3 separate regions of the Homo sapiens genome follow, and all the other regions are linked to region 1. Evidence: promoter capture Hi-C in 16 types of primary human blood cells and fetal thymus (Javierre and others, 2016). All regions are on one chromosome and are shown on one strand. Each heading gives the region's core, a stretch centred on a gene start or on the middle of the fragment in contact. The rest is flanking DNA. Distances are from core to core; before and after follow the strand shown. Region 1 holds the start of ZFHX2 (zinc finger homeobox 2). Region 2 has its middle 15 kb from the start of SLC22A17. Region 3 holds the start of PABPN1 (poly(A) binding protein nuclear 1).

Region 1 (3,940 bases), core at 145-2,644:
CTATAGCAGTTAGTATGGGCCCTGGAGCCAGACCATGGAGGTTTTTGAGTCCTGGCACTGTCACTTACTTATTGGCCATTGGACCTTGGGCCTGTTAATTCACTTGTTTGTGCCTTAGTTTCCTCAATAAATGAGACTATAATAGCATCTACCTCATGCTTGAGGTATTGAGAGGAGTAAACAATGTATGTAAAAGTGCTTGGAACTGTCCCTGTGCATTCAAGAAATCTTAAAAATTATTATTAGAATACAGGAGCGGCCGGGTGAGGTGGATCACCCCTATAATCCCAGGACTTTGGGAGGCTGAGGCCGGTGGATCACCTGAGGTCAGGAGTTCGAGACCAGCCTGGCTAAGATGGTGAAACCCCCGTCTCTACTAAAAATACAAAATTAGCAGGGCATGGTGGTGGGCACCTACAATCCCAGCTACTTGGGAGGCTGAGGCAGGAGAATCACTTGAACCTGGGAGGTGAAGGTTGCAGTGAGCCGGGATCATGCCACTGCACTGCAGCCTGGGCGACAGAGTGACTCTGTCTCAAGAAAAAAACAAACAAACAAAAAAACGGGCTGGGCGCGGTGGTGGTTCACACCTGTAATCCCAGCACTTTGGGAGGCCGAGGCAGGCGGATCACAAGGTCAGGAGTTCGAGACCAGCTTGACCAACGTGGTGAAACCCCGTCTCTACTAAAAATACAAAAATTAGCTGGGTGTGTTGATGCATGCCTGTAATCCCAGCTACTTAGGAGGCTGAGGTAGGAGAATCGCTTGAACCCGGTGGTGGAGGTTGCAGTGAGCCGAGATCGCACCACTGCACTCCAACCTGGGCGACTGAGTGAGACTCCGTCTCCAGAAAAAAAAAAAAAAAAAAAATTCAGGAGCACTTAATAAGCGATAAACTGAAGATGAGGAGGAGCCCGAACCTCCCCCAACCCAGCTCAGGGGACTATGTAACCGTGTGGAGGAGGCAGAAGCTCTCAGAGACTAAAGAGTAATTGCTGCGGTAGAGAAGGTTCTAGTACCCAATTTCGCGGGGGGAGATGGGGGAGGCGGAATAATAAGGCAGGAAGAAGAGAATGAAAAAAGGAGGCCTTGGGCGGCTCAGGGCTTGTTCTGAAGCTGATTTAAAACAAAACAACAAAACACATGTATGGTTTCTGCAGGCCACAGGATGAAGAGGAGAGGAGACGGAAAAGAGTTTAAAGGGGCCTGCCCTCTTTGCAGGCACCGGCTTGAACCTGGAGGCGACCTGGTGGGCTGGCCGGCCTGCCCCCGGCCCTGGGTCCCGCGAGGCAGGCGGGCGGGCGCGAACAGACTACAACTCCCGGCATGCGCCGCGGCGGGCGGGTCGCTGCACCTGCTCAGTGGGGCAGCCCCGGGCGCCTGGGTATTGATTATTCCATTGTGTGGGACGCCTAGACTCCAGCCAGTGAATGAGGCGGAGGAGTGAGGGCGAGGAGGAGGAGGAGGAGGAGGGCGAGGAGGAGAAGGAGGAGGAGGAGGAGGAGGCAGGGAGCGAGCGAGTGCCCAGGGTGAATCAATGGAAACCCCCTCACGAAGCCGGGGAAACACTTCAGCCGCAGCCAAATAGCATTGATTATTTTCCTTCACTTCCCTCACCGCCGTGAATTTATTTATTTATTTTTTTCCGTCTCCGTCCCTGACGCCCCGGAGCGAGCGCTGGAGGGAGGGAGGAGGAGGGGAAAAAAGAGGAATCAACACATCGGAGAAGTCCCTTCCAAGAGCCGCCCCCTCCCCTCCCCGCCTCGCGCTGCTCGGTGGCCGCGGTTCGACTCCCGTCCCTGCTTCCAGCTGAGGTGTAAGTGCATCGATTTCCGATGCTGCTGGGTTGGTTTTTTTCTCCTCTCCCTCTCTCTCTTCTTCCCTTCCTTGCTCTTTGGAAGCTCGAGACGGGAGAGGAGGCGCTTGGAGACTGCCGCTGGAGGGGACGGAGAGGGACGGGAAGGGGCTGGGGGAGGGGACAAGGACGGACGGACAGACAGACCGAGAGCCCTGGGAGATAGCAGACAGGGGTGTGGGAGGAAGAGGGCGTGCGCGAGGATGGGGGAAGAGAGATGCGGGGGTGGAGGGAGAAACGGGAACGGGAAAGGCAGAGGCCCGCCGGACAGACGAAGGGTATGGAAAGCCTAGACGGACCGCGCCGAGTTGGGCAGGGAGCGGGGATCCCGGGGGGAAGGGGAGGCCCGGTGAGTGTGAGGGCTCAGAGCTGTCAGCCTGGAGGGTCCTGGGTCTCGGCGGCCCCCCGCCGGCTGTGGGATGGGAGAACCGCGGCCGGCGGGCTGATGGATGGGCTAGCGCGCTGGGGCGTGGAGTGGGAGGGGACGTGGATACTCTCAGTCTTCGTTCGTTTTTGGCTGAAGTTGGGCTTTCCATTCCTTTTTTTGAAAGTGTTGAGTAGGTGAGGGGAGGCCATAAGCCCATTCAAGGTGAAGCGTGTCTGTCCTGCACGCCCATCCTACCACCCCCATCCGCTCGTCTGCCCCTCTGAGCAGCCCTATCATTTTCAAGCACAGGACCACGCTTCCTCGCTGTGCCTGTAGCCCCGCTGATCTCTGTCCATGTGTCCCTGACTTTTGGTTTTGCTGTTCTTCATCTTGTCTCTTCCATCCCATCCATCTCTGGATCTGTATGTCACTGTCTCCACTTGTGACCCTTCCCATCTGAGTGATCCTCTCCTTGTGTGTCTCTATCACTATGTGTCACGCCTTGGCTGCCTGTTCTGTCGGTCTAGGATTCCATGCCCTCTCCTTCAGAGTCTGTCTGGATATCTCTGGCCTTTTCAGGCTACTTTGGAATTTGCTTATCAGTCATGATTGTGGTGGTCACAGTCAGGGCCTGGAGGAGTGGGATGATGGAGCAAATGTGTCTTCGCCAAAGCCTCTAGTGCCTTCAGCATGGCCAGGACAGCCTCCTCTTCCACCATCACCAGAGAAGCTTTGGAACTTCCTAGCATTGTTGACTGTCCCCTTTGCCATGTGCCTGTCTCCCTCATCAGAACCTCACCTTCTGGTCTCATGCGTGTCATCTGCCTTTCCAGGAGCTTCGCACAACAAAACCTCTTCCCTGCTGACTTAATTTTACTCCCTTCCCCCACTGTATCATTGTATATTTTTTATTTCCCCATTTTGCTTCACCCCTTTTTTCCATCTGTTTCCCATGAGCTCTGAGTTTCCACCTTTGTTCCCATAATCTGCCCTCTTCCTACCTTTTCTTCTTGATCACCCTAAGTTTCTAGTTTCTTTTATCCCTTTTCCTCTTATCCAGCATTTTAACCCCAGCAGCAGAAAGTACCAGCAAGCAAAGGGCTGGGAGAGGTGTGGGGTATGGTTTGTGAAGGCACATAAACAGGCCAAGAAATAAATTTAATGAGCTTCCAGGGGCATATAACCCCTCCATCAGTCAGTGCCATTATGTCAGTTAACTGTCAACTTTGATTTTGTAAGGGGACATTCCCTAGGACTCTAAGCTCCACCCTGCCTGGTTGCCCCCCATCCTTCAGTTCATTCTAGATATCAGTTGCTTTTTCTTCACTTTTTAGTTCATCTTCTTCCTAGGCCCCTGCTACTATCATATTTAGATCCAGCACCATTTTTTTTTAATGAGGCAGTGTTTATTAGTGTAATAAAAGCTATCGTATGTAAGGAGCCAAGTTCATTTAGCCTGAAGAACAGTAAGGGTGGATAAAGGATCTGGAGAGTTTACCTTAGTTTTTAGCCCATCATTGTTTTTCCAAACCTCAGGAGCTTGGAAAGGTAAAAGGAGCAGGCAGACATGGGCAGAAGATGGACGATTTCAGAGGTGAACAGAATTAAAGAAAGAAAGGGGTGGTCGGTGCAATAAACACATGGGGTAGAGAAATGTATGACGTGAGGGATGTGCAAAGGAAGGGAGGAAAATCTATGCGGACTCGGGGGCAGGGGAG
Region 2 (3,874 bases), core at 756-3,255, 210 kb after region 1:
TTTATAAATTCCTTTTTTACTAACCTTATTACAACTTAGACCATTTACAACATGCTTGGACTTTTGGCTTGTCCTAAATATTCCTCTTTCTTGAACAACCCATTCATTTTATTTTAGAACAAAAATTCACCATACAAGACTCTTTCTCATATAAAATTATTTTAAGCTTTCTTACCAAAAATACCTCTTTATTTCTATAACTTTCTTTGCATCTCTCTTATTTCCTGGTTCCTTTTACCTTGTTTTACACATAACATTTAAATAAGCTTTGAATAGATAAAAATTATTCACCTTTTAATAAGAACATATTTTTTAGAAAGAATGTTCTCCTACACTATAATTTTTTTAATTGGAAAATACCTAGACATTTAATGAAATATTTAATTTAACTTTAGATTCTAATTTATGACAAGTTTGTTTACAAGTTTCTATTACATTTACCTAATTATTTTAATAGTTTACCTAGTGATATGGTTAGGCTTGTGTCCCCACCCAAATCTCGTCTTGAATTATAATCCCTATAATCCCCATGTGTCAAGAGAGAGACCAGGTGGAGGTAATTGACTTATGGGAGTGGTTTACCCCATGCTGTTCTCATGATAGTGAGTGAGTTCTCATGAGATCTGATAGTTTTATGTATTTGGTAGTTCCTCCTGCATTCATTCTCCTTCCTGCTGCCTTATGAAGAAGGTGCCTTGCTTCCTCTTTGCCTTCTGCCATGATTGTAAGTTTCCTGAGGCCTCCCCAGCCATGCTAAACTGTAAATCAATGGACCTCTCTCCTTTATAGATTACCTAATCTTGGATAGTTCTTTATAGCAATGTGAAAATAGACCTCCAGAGAGAGAAACTAGATTATTTATGAAAATTGTGATAGTCATTATTTAAAGTTATTTCCCTGTCAACCATTTTTACAGCTTGTGAATTTTAGGTGATTACCTAAGTAAGTACCTTAAGATTAAATATATGATTATTTTACCAATAATTCAAGATTTAGCTGTTTTCATTAAATCAACAATATTAATGTCTTTTTTATTAAAAATGACACAAACAAAAATCATTACATTTTTTGCTGGGTTTATAGTTTTATAACCCTTATGCCAAATTTTGACACCTTATAGTATTCAGCAGAGATAAGTATGAAATCACTTGATCAATAAATGCAAACAAAAATGTATGCTGACAAGTCTTAAGACATTTCAAATATTACTTTACCAACAATCTTAAAGCTAGCTTATTAAAGATTTTACTTAAGTCATGTAAACTTGAAATGCATTTGGGCTTATTATTTAATTTATGGATAATCTATAATTGGTAGCCAATTTGTTACCTTGTGACCCAAAACACAACAGAATCCATGTATGTACACATAAACACACATACACACTCATACAACCAAAGATCCTATAGCTTTTACTTCAGAATGTTAGCCATGAGATATTAATACAAACTCATTGGTTTGCAAAAACAATAACAAAAGAAATGGTTGGATACAAACAGTGGATTTTATCTCAGTAGAAAAGTAACAGCAGACTTAAAGCAGACAGAAAAGAAAGCAAAGAAATAGAGAACTTCGGAAGTTTATAGTTGCAGATTGACCTTCAGGCTCTGAATTCTCTTTGAGGTGATTTGCCCATCAGTTTAAAATGTGCACAAGAGCAGACCCGATGTGTAACCAGCCGGAGTATTAGAAAACCTGGTGTGCCATTCCATTTACACAACCACTTGCAAGTAGAGGGTCATAAAACCAAACAGGGTGCCTGAGAAGGGTCATTCTCCTTGTCTGTCCTCATTCCTAGATAATTCATTTCCCACATTTTTTCTTAAAAGGAGGAACTAAGCTGTGGCCTAGAGTTTGGTGGAGTGGGGAAAAGTGTGCTGGTTGTGGGTGGGACTCCACAGTGTGTCACACACAGTGTGTCTCAGTTTCTTACTCTGGAGGTCTAGCATCTCCGGGAGGGCTGATAGCATGGGGTGACCAGCTCCTATATGTGCTTCCTGGATGAGCCTTTTTAAACTAATTTTGTTTGGAGTTCCCTGTAGGGCCACTGCACATCATGGGGGCTCAACCCCCCAACATTCCCACTTAGCCCCCTGGCACTCAGGGGCACCTTTTGACTGGGAAGAGCAAAATGCTCTTTCTCTTTGGAGCTGTGGAAACTCAGTCTCTCATTTATCTATGAAAAAGACAGTTCACTTCCTCCCACAAATGCACAGAGCAGCCAATCAAGACTAATTTCAAGAGGAAAGGCAATGAAAAAGACACTTTTTTTTTTTTTTGAGACAGAGTGTCACTGTCACCAGGCTGGAGTGCAATGGCACAATCTCGGCTCACTGCAACCTCCGCCTCCTGGGTTCAAGCAATTCTCCTGCCTCAGGCTCCCAAGTAGCTGGGACTACAGGTGCACTCTACCATGCCCAGCTAATTTTTGTATTTTTAGTAGAGACGGGGTTTCACCGTGTTGGCCAGGATGGTCTCGATCTCTTGACCTCGTGATCCACCCACCTCGGCCTCCCAAAGTGTTGGGATTACAGGCATGAGTCACCGCACCCAGCCGGACAAGACACTATTTAAAATGTACCTCCAAACTAGAATTAGGGTCCTAAATATCTTCCCAGGAGGAAAAAAAAAAATCTAAGACCACTCTCTGTAAACTGTTCTTAGCCACCCCTAACTTTGTAGCACTTGTCCGCCATTACACACACCAAGGTAAAATCCTCACACAGCGCAAAGTAATCTTTGGTATCCCCCAAAGCCAAAGAGATCAGGTAATGCAATACAGGAGAGCAGAACTTTAGACCGAAGAAGAATCTGCCTATAACTCTTGAAACTTCAAAAAGAAAACAGAACACTCCAAAAGGGATGAGTGGCACCTTTGTTTTGAGTTATTTGAGGAATTCAAGTCATTAGAAGCCTTCTCTAGATTTTTTCTTGGTACTGAAGATGGCAAAGGGGAAGGAGGAATAGGATGGATGAAAATTAAGACAGCGAACACAGAAACTAAGCCCATGGTTTCTTTTTTTCTTTTTACAGCTGTGAGAAATTTTAACTTATTCAGAGGCCTTGTTCCCCATAATTTGGAATTCTCATTAGGATTTGACCAAGACAGGTAGAGTTAGTCAAATCCAATGGGAGAAAGGGACAACAACAAAAAAAACCAACAATATGATCACTTAGCGCTCTAATGGTAAGGAGAAATTAAGACCAGCTGGTTGTCAACTTTAACCTTTAGTCATTATGGAGAATTTTCAAGACAAAAAAAAAGCAAGCAAGCAAGCAAGAAAACCAAATCAGCTTCTTACCTAAAAATGGGTCTCAGGTTGAAGACTACTCTCTACCCTCCTAGAAGCAGGAAGAAACTCAAACTTGCCTTCCCTGTTAGATATTAGCTAAAACTCCAAAAAGGAGTTACCTGTTACCTGCCTTCCAACATCATGGGAGCAGGAAAACTTGCCTTCCTTGTTGGAAGCAAGTATAACTCCAGAAAAGGAATCGTAGAGCAAAATAAACTTTAGATCTCAACCAAATTTTGAGAGATCAGGGGTTCTCTGGAGAAAGGGGAGTTCCCAAGCCTCAGCAAATTGTCCTGTTGATTTGAGCCATAAACATAGCTCAAGCTGGTGCCGAGCACCGATAGGAGATTTGTCAAAGGTCAGGGCTACATCCACTCAGAGTCCCTTCATGGGCACCAATTTGTAAACCAAAAATTATCTGAGACAAGTCTCAATCAATTCAGAAAGCTTATTTTGCCAGGGTTAAGGATGCACCCATGATACAGCCTCAGGAGGTCCTGAGGACACGTGCCCAAAGTGGTCGAAGTACAGCTTGCTTTATACATTTTAAGGAGACATAATACATCAATCAGTACGCATAA
Region 3 (3,686 bases), core at 981-3,480, 230 kb after region 1:
ACCCACATCTAGCCTTCATTTTTGTTATCTGGCCTCTGAAGACATTTAGGTGCAACTCCTGATATATCAACATTAATGCCATGATCTTAAATGACACAGATCACCTGTGTTAACACCAAATAACTTACTGCTCAATATAAAACATAATTTATCTATTTGTACACTGTAATTTAAATTATCTCAACTTACTCCCCTTTACTTACCCTTTGGGATGGCCACTAAATTTGTCACACAGTATGGTAACACGGTTGACTGAACCACAGCCATGAAAGTGAGCTTCCAGCTCTTCTGCTGTTGCACCATAGTCCACCTGATGAGAGGAGAAAAATTTCACAGGCACCAGGCAAATTCCTGTCTCAAAAGGAACCCTCCCGAGCCTTTGGTCTGGGCCATCATACACCAAAGCACATGAAATCTGGTAATTTGAGGAATTAATCTCTTTTCCTTCCAAACCCAGAGCCTTTGCTGATTACTGATCATTCCATTACCTTTAACCTCCTTCCCACACTCCCTCCACACCCAAAACCACATCTATCCCGGAGATGTTCCTTTCAGGACTATTAAATAATTCCCCAAAAGAAGAACTTGCCCCCAACCCCAGTCAGAGCCCCAGTACGTACATTGCCAACATAGATGGAACGGGCATCAGCCTCCATCTTCTCCTCAATGGACATGATCACCGGGCCAGCTATCAGGAAAAAATAATTTTTTACAAAAACCACACACTTGTTTTCTACTTGACCAATATGTTGCACTTCCACCACCAGCACTATCCCATAAGCTCAGTGAAGGCAAAGATTTTGGTCTGTGCTGTTCCCTGCTGTACCCACAACCGAGAATAGTGCCTAGTGCATAGCAGGTACTCACTAAATATTCAATAAATTGAAAGAATTAATACACACTTAAAACAGTATAGGAATCCCTCCTGCCTCCAAATCAAATCCCTAATGAATGGCTTTGGTTGAAATGCTTTTAAGAGTGAGCAAAATTAAGTGGGCTGAGACTCCACATTTCTAGATTAAAGGGGAAACCCCTTGCAGCTTGCTTTCTCTTAGAATCCTAAAGCGTCTCCAATTGGAGGAAAAACTATTAGATTTGAAGGTCAAATGCGAGCACGCAACCTCTACAAAGAAAGATAGACGTAGACTAAGAACAAAGAGCAACACAATTATAACAGGCACAAAGGGAGGCACAAGGCTACCACCACCAAAATATACGTTCTGCCTCACAAAGGTCAGAGGAACACACAACGGACTATGACCGCGGCACAGTCATAATAGCTCAGACAAGCAGCTCCAGGGTGCCGAGTATCTAACCCCACATTCCCCATCCTCCCCACAACCCTTCCAACCCGAGAACCCGGGCTCCGCGTGCAACCGCCAGTTACTCACCATTGCCTGGAGGTGGACTCATATTCATCTGCTTCTCTACCTCGTTCTGTAGCTCCTTTAGCTTCTCAGCTTCTTCCTCCATCTCCCTGACTCGAGCTTTGATAGCTTCCAGCTCCTAATATAAGTGGGGAGGGTATGGAGGACAGCTTAAGAGGAACCAACGCAGGGGCTGTGCCCTGCTCTCGGCCAGAGCGCGGCCTCAGCCATGCTCGGCCATTTCCCTCGCCCCATGCGAGGGTCGTGATAAAAGAAAAGCTACCCTCTCTAGAACAACACTAGGCAACCGTGACGCCCGAATCAAGCCAGTCGGGCCCCTTGTAGTGATCGCTGACCCATCCCCGGCCCGACCCGGCCCCAGCCACGTTATTCCCCGCCCAACCCCACCCCCCGCCTGCCACCCGCTCGCCCGAGCTCTGGGCCTCCAGTGACCCGGCCGGCCAGCCGCCGGCCTGCTCGCTCGCCCTCCTTCCCTCACCGGGTCCTCAATGGCGCCGTCCCCCGGGTCACCCTCGACCAGTCCCGGCTCCTCCTCCTCCTCTTGGCTGCCGGGGGCTCCCGAACCAGGCCCAGGGCCCGGAGCTCCCGGGGGGGCGCGGGGCCGGGGCGGCTCCTCTTCGGGCTCGGGCTCCGGCTCGGGCTCCAGCAGCAGCTCCTCAGGCTCCAGTTCCTCAGACTCCAGGCCGTTCCCGTAGTCCCCTGCGCCCCCCGGGGCCCCCTCCCCGGCCTCCCCACCGGCCCCGGGCACAAGATGGCGCCGCCGCCCCGGCCCGGAGCCCCGACCGCCCGCAGCCCCCGCTGCTGCTGCCGCCGCCGCCGCCGCCGCCATCGCCGCTCAGACTGGGGCCCGCCGCCCGGCGATTGGAGAGCTGCGCCGGCCACGCCGAGGACTCATTAGTCAAGCTGCCTGCCCGTCACCATGAGCTAGTACTCCATTGGGGAATATTACTTGGCAATCAAATAAGGCCCCACCTCTAAGGCGGGGCACTGCGCCAAATTCTCAAATCCCGGTAGGGGAAATCTGCCTGTCAATCAACACGCGTCCCACCTCCTATCGAGTCCTTAGGTAATAATACCGCCACGCTGTGACGATATTCCTGCTTCTCCCCGGCCTACGGGCGGGCCCGCGAAGTATGGGACGCTCCGTGATTGGCCCTAGCTAGGCGACTGGAAAGGACCAATCTTCCGATCGCCTCACCGCAGTGGCCCAGTCTCAGATGCCGATTGGCTTGCGAGAGTCGAAGGGGTGACACTCGTTTCGTGACAGGTGAACCTTGCCCCCGAAAGGACTGCCGGGCTTCAAACTTGGGAAACCCGAGGTCACATGACTAGCCAGTCCTAGGGGGCCGCCATCTTGATACTACTGCTTGCCAGCTAGTGAGCTGTTGGCCGGGTGAGGCCCAAAACAGAGCAGCAGTTTCAGGAAACTTGTATCTCGACCAGGAAGCACCAGTAGATGGGATGTTGCTGAAAATGGAGGTTGTGAATGAAGCATTCCAGGAGGGAGCTTACTTTCCCCATCCAGGTTATTGGCACCATCATCCACTAGCTCTCCCGCACCAGAAAGCAGGGAGGATTCCTCAGTCCAGAGCTACTAGTCACAAGTCCTGTCTGTCCCGCCCTCTTGCGTAGGCCTTCTGCTCCCCAGTTCCATTTTCTTTTTCCTGGACAGCTTCCAATGTCACCCCTCCAATCTGCACCGCTAACAGACTGGCCCCCCTTTGCTGGCGAGGTAAAGTCTCAAAACCGTAAATCACGGCCTTCGATACGCCAGCATGTGGTTACTTTGTGGATGTTGTTTCCTTCCACTCTTCTCGTTCCTTTGGGTGTACCTGCACCCAGTCTGTGCCTCTAACATGTAGTCCCCCTTCAATCAAACCACTGCAAACCCCAGCTTCCCCTCATTTCCCAGGACAAGTGGGCCTATCTCCACGGCGCGCTTAATTGTTTTACTGTTTCCTAACTAGGTTGTGAGCGCCTGCAGATGAGGGGCCGGTTCCTATTTATATTCGCATCTCCACGGCCTGGCAATATGCCTACCACATAATGTCCTGTTAGATGTTTGTTGATTGAACAGGCATTGATTGGGGATTTGGGTGCCACCCTTCATTTAAGCCCTCAAGCCCCCAAGATCCCAGAGGAATTTCTCCTGGCAGGTTCCCACTACACCCCTGCACCCCAAGTACCAATGAGACCTAGCCCTGGAAGGCAGGACTGCCATATTTTGGTAGCAGTCCTACACATTTATTAAAAAGAAAGGAATGGCAGTGTACGTTTGCAAGAGAAATTTTTGTGGGC

Evidence for each region. Contacts are between HindIII fragments. The CHiCAGO score rates a contact against its expected background, and 5 or more counts as called.
Region 2: a fragment that was not itself captured here is called in contact with the fragment with the promoter of ZFHX2 in region 1 in 1 of 17 cell types (megakaryocytes); the score reaches 7.2 in megakaryocytes.
Region 3: the fragment with the promoter of PABPN1 here is called in contact with the fragment with the promoter of ZFHX2 in region 1 in 9 of 17 cell types (megakaryocytes, erythroblasts, activated CD4 T cells and 6 more); the score reaches 11.1 in megakaryocytes.

Annotation. Positions count from the first base shown.
Region 1 is chr14:23,549,219-23,553,158 of GRCh38, reverse strand. It overlaps ZFHX2 (zinc finger homeobox 2), which reads left to right and starts at 1,394. Exons shown (of 10, transcript NM_033400.3): 1 at 1,394-1,816. It also overlaps a transcript of THTPA not described here. RefSeq lists enhancers at 1,041-1,090, 1,940-2,602 and a silencer at 1,221-1,460. The HindIII fragment of the contact is 16,619 bases long and covers 1-2,954 here.
Region 2 is chr14:23,335,834-23,339,707 of GRCh38, reverse strand. No RefSeq gene overlaps it. Among named protein-coding and RNA genes, the nearest start is that of SLC22A17, 15 kb to the left of the region's middle. The HindIII fragment of the contact is 3,474 bases long and covers 269-3,742 here.
Region 3 is chr14:23,320,001-23,323,686 of GRCh38, reverse strand. It overlaps PABPN1 (poly(A) binding protein nuclear 1), which reads right to left and starts at 2,230. Exons shown (of 7, transcript NM_004643.4): 1 at 1,867-2,230; 2 at 1,392-1,506; 3 at 621-688; 4 at 204-310. The coding sequence starts at 2,217. It overlaps BCL2L2-PABPN1 (BCL2L2-PABPN1 readthrough), which reads right to left. Exons shown (of 8, transcript NM_001387346.1): 4 at 1,392-1,506; 5 at 621-688; 6 at 204-310. RefSeq lists enhancers at 856-1,665, 1,666-2,477, 2,731-2,800, 2,489-3,139 and silencers at 1,771-1,840, 1,901-2,330. The HindIII fragment of the contact is 8,249 bases long and covers 1-3,686 here.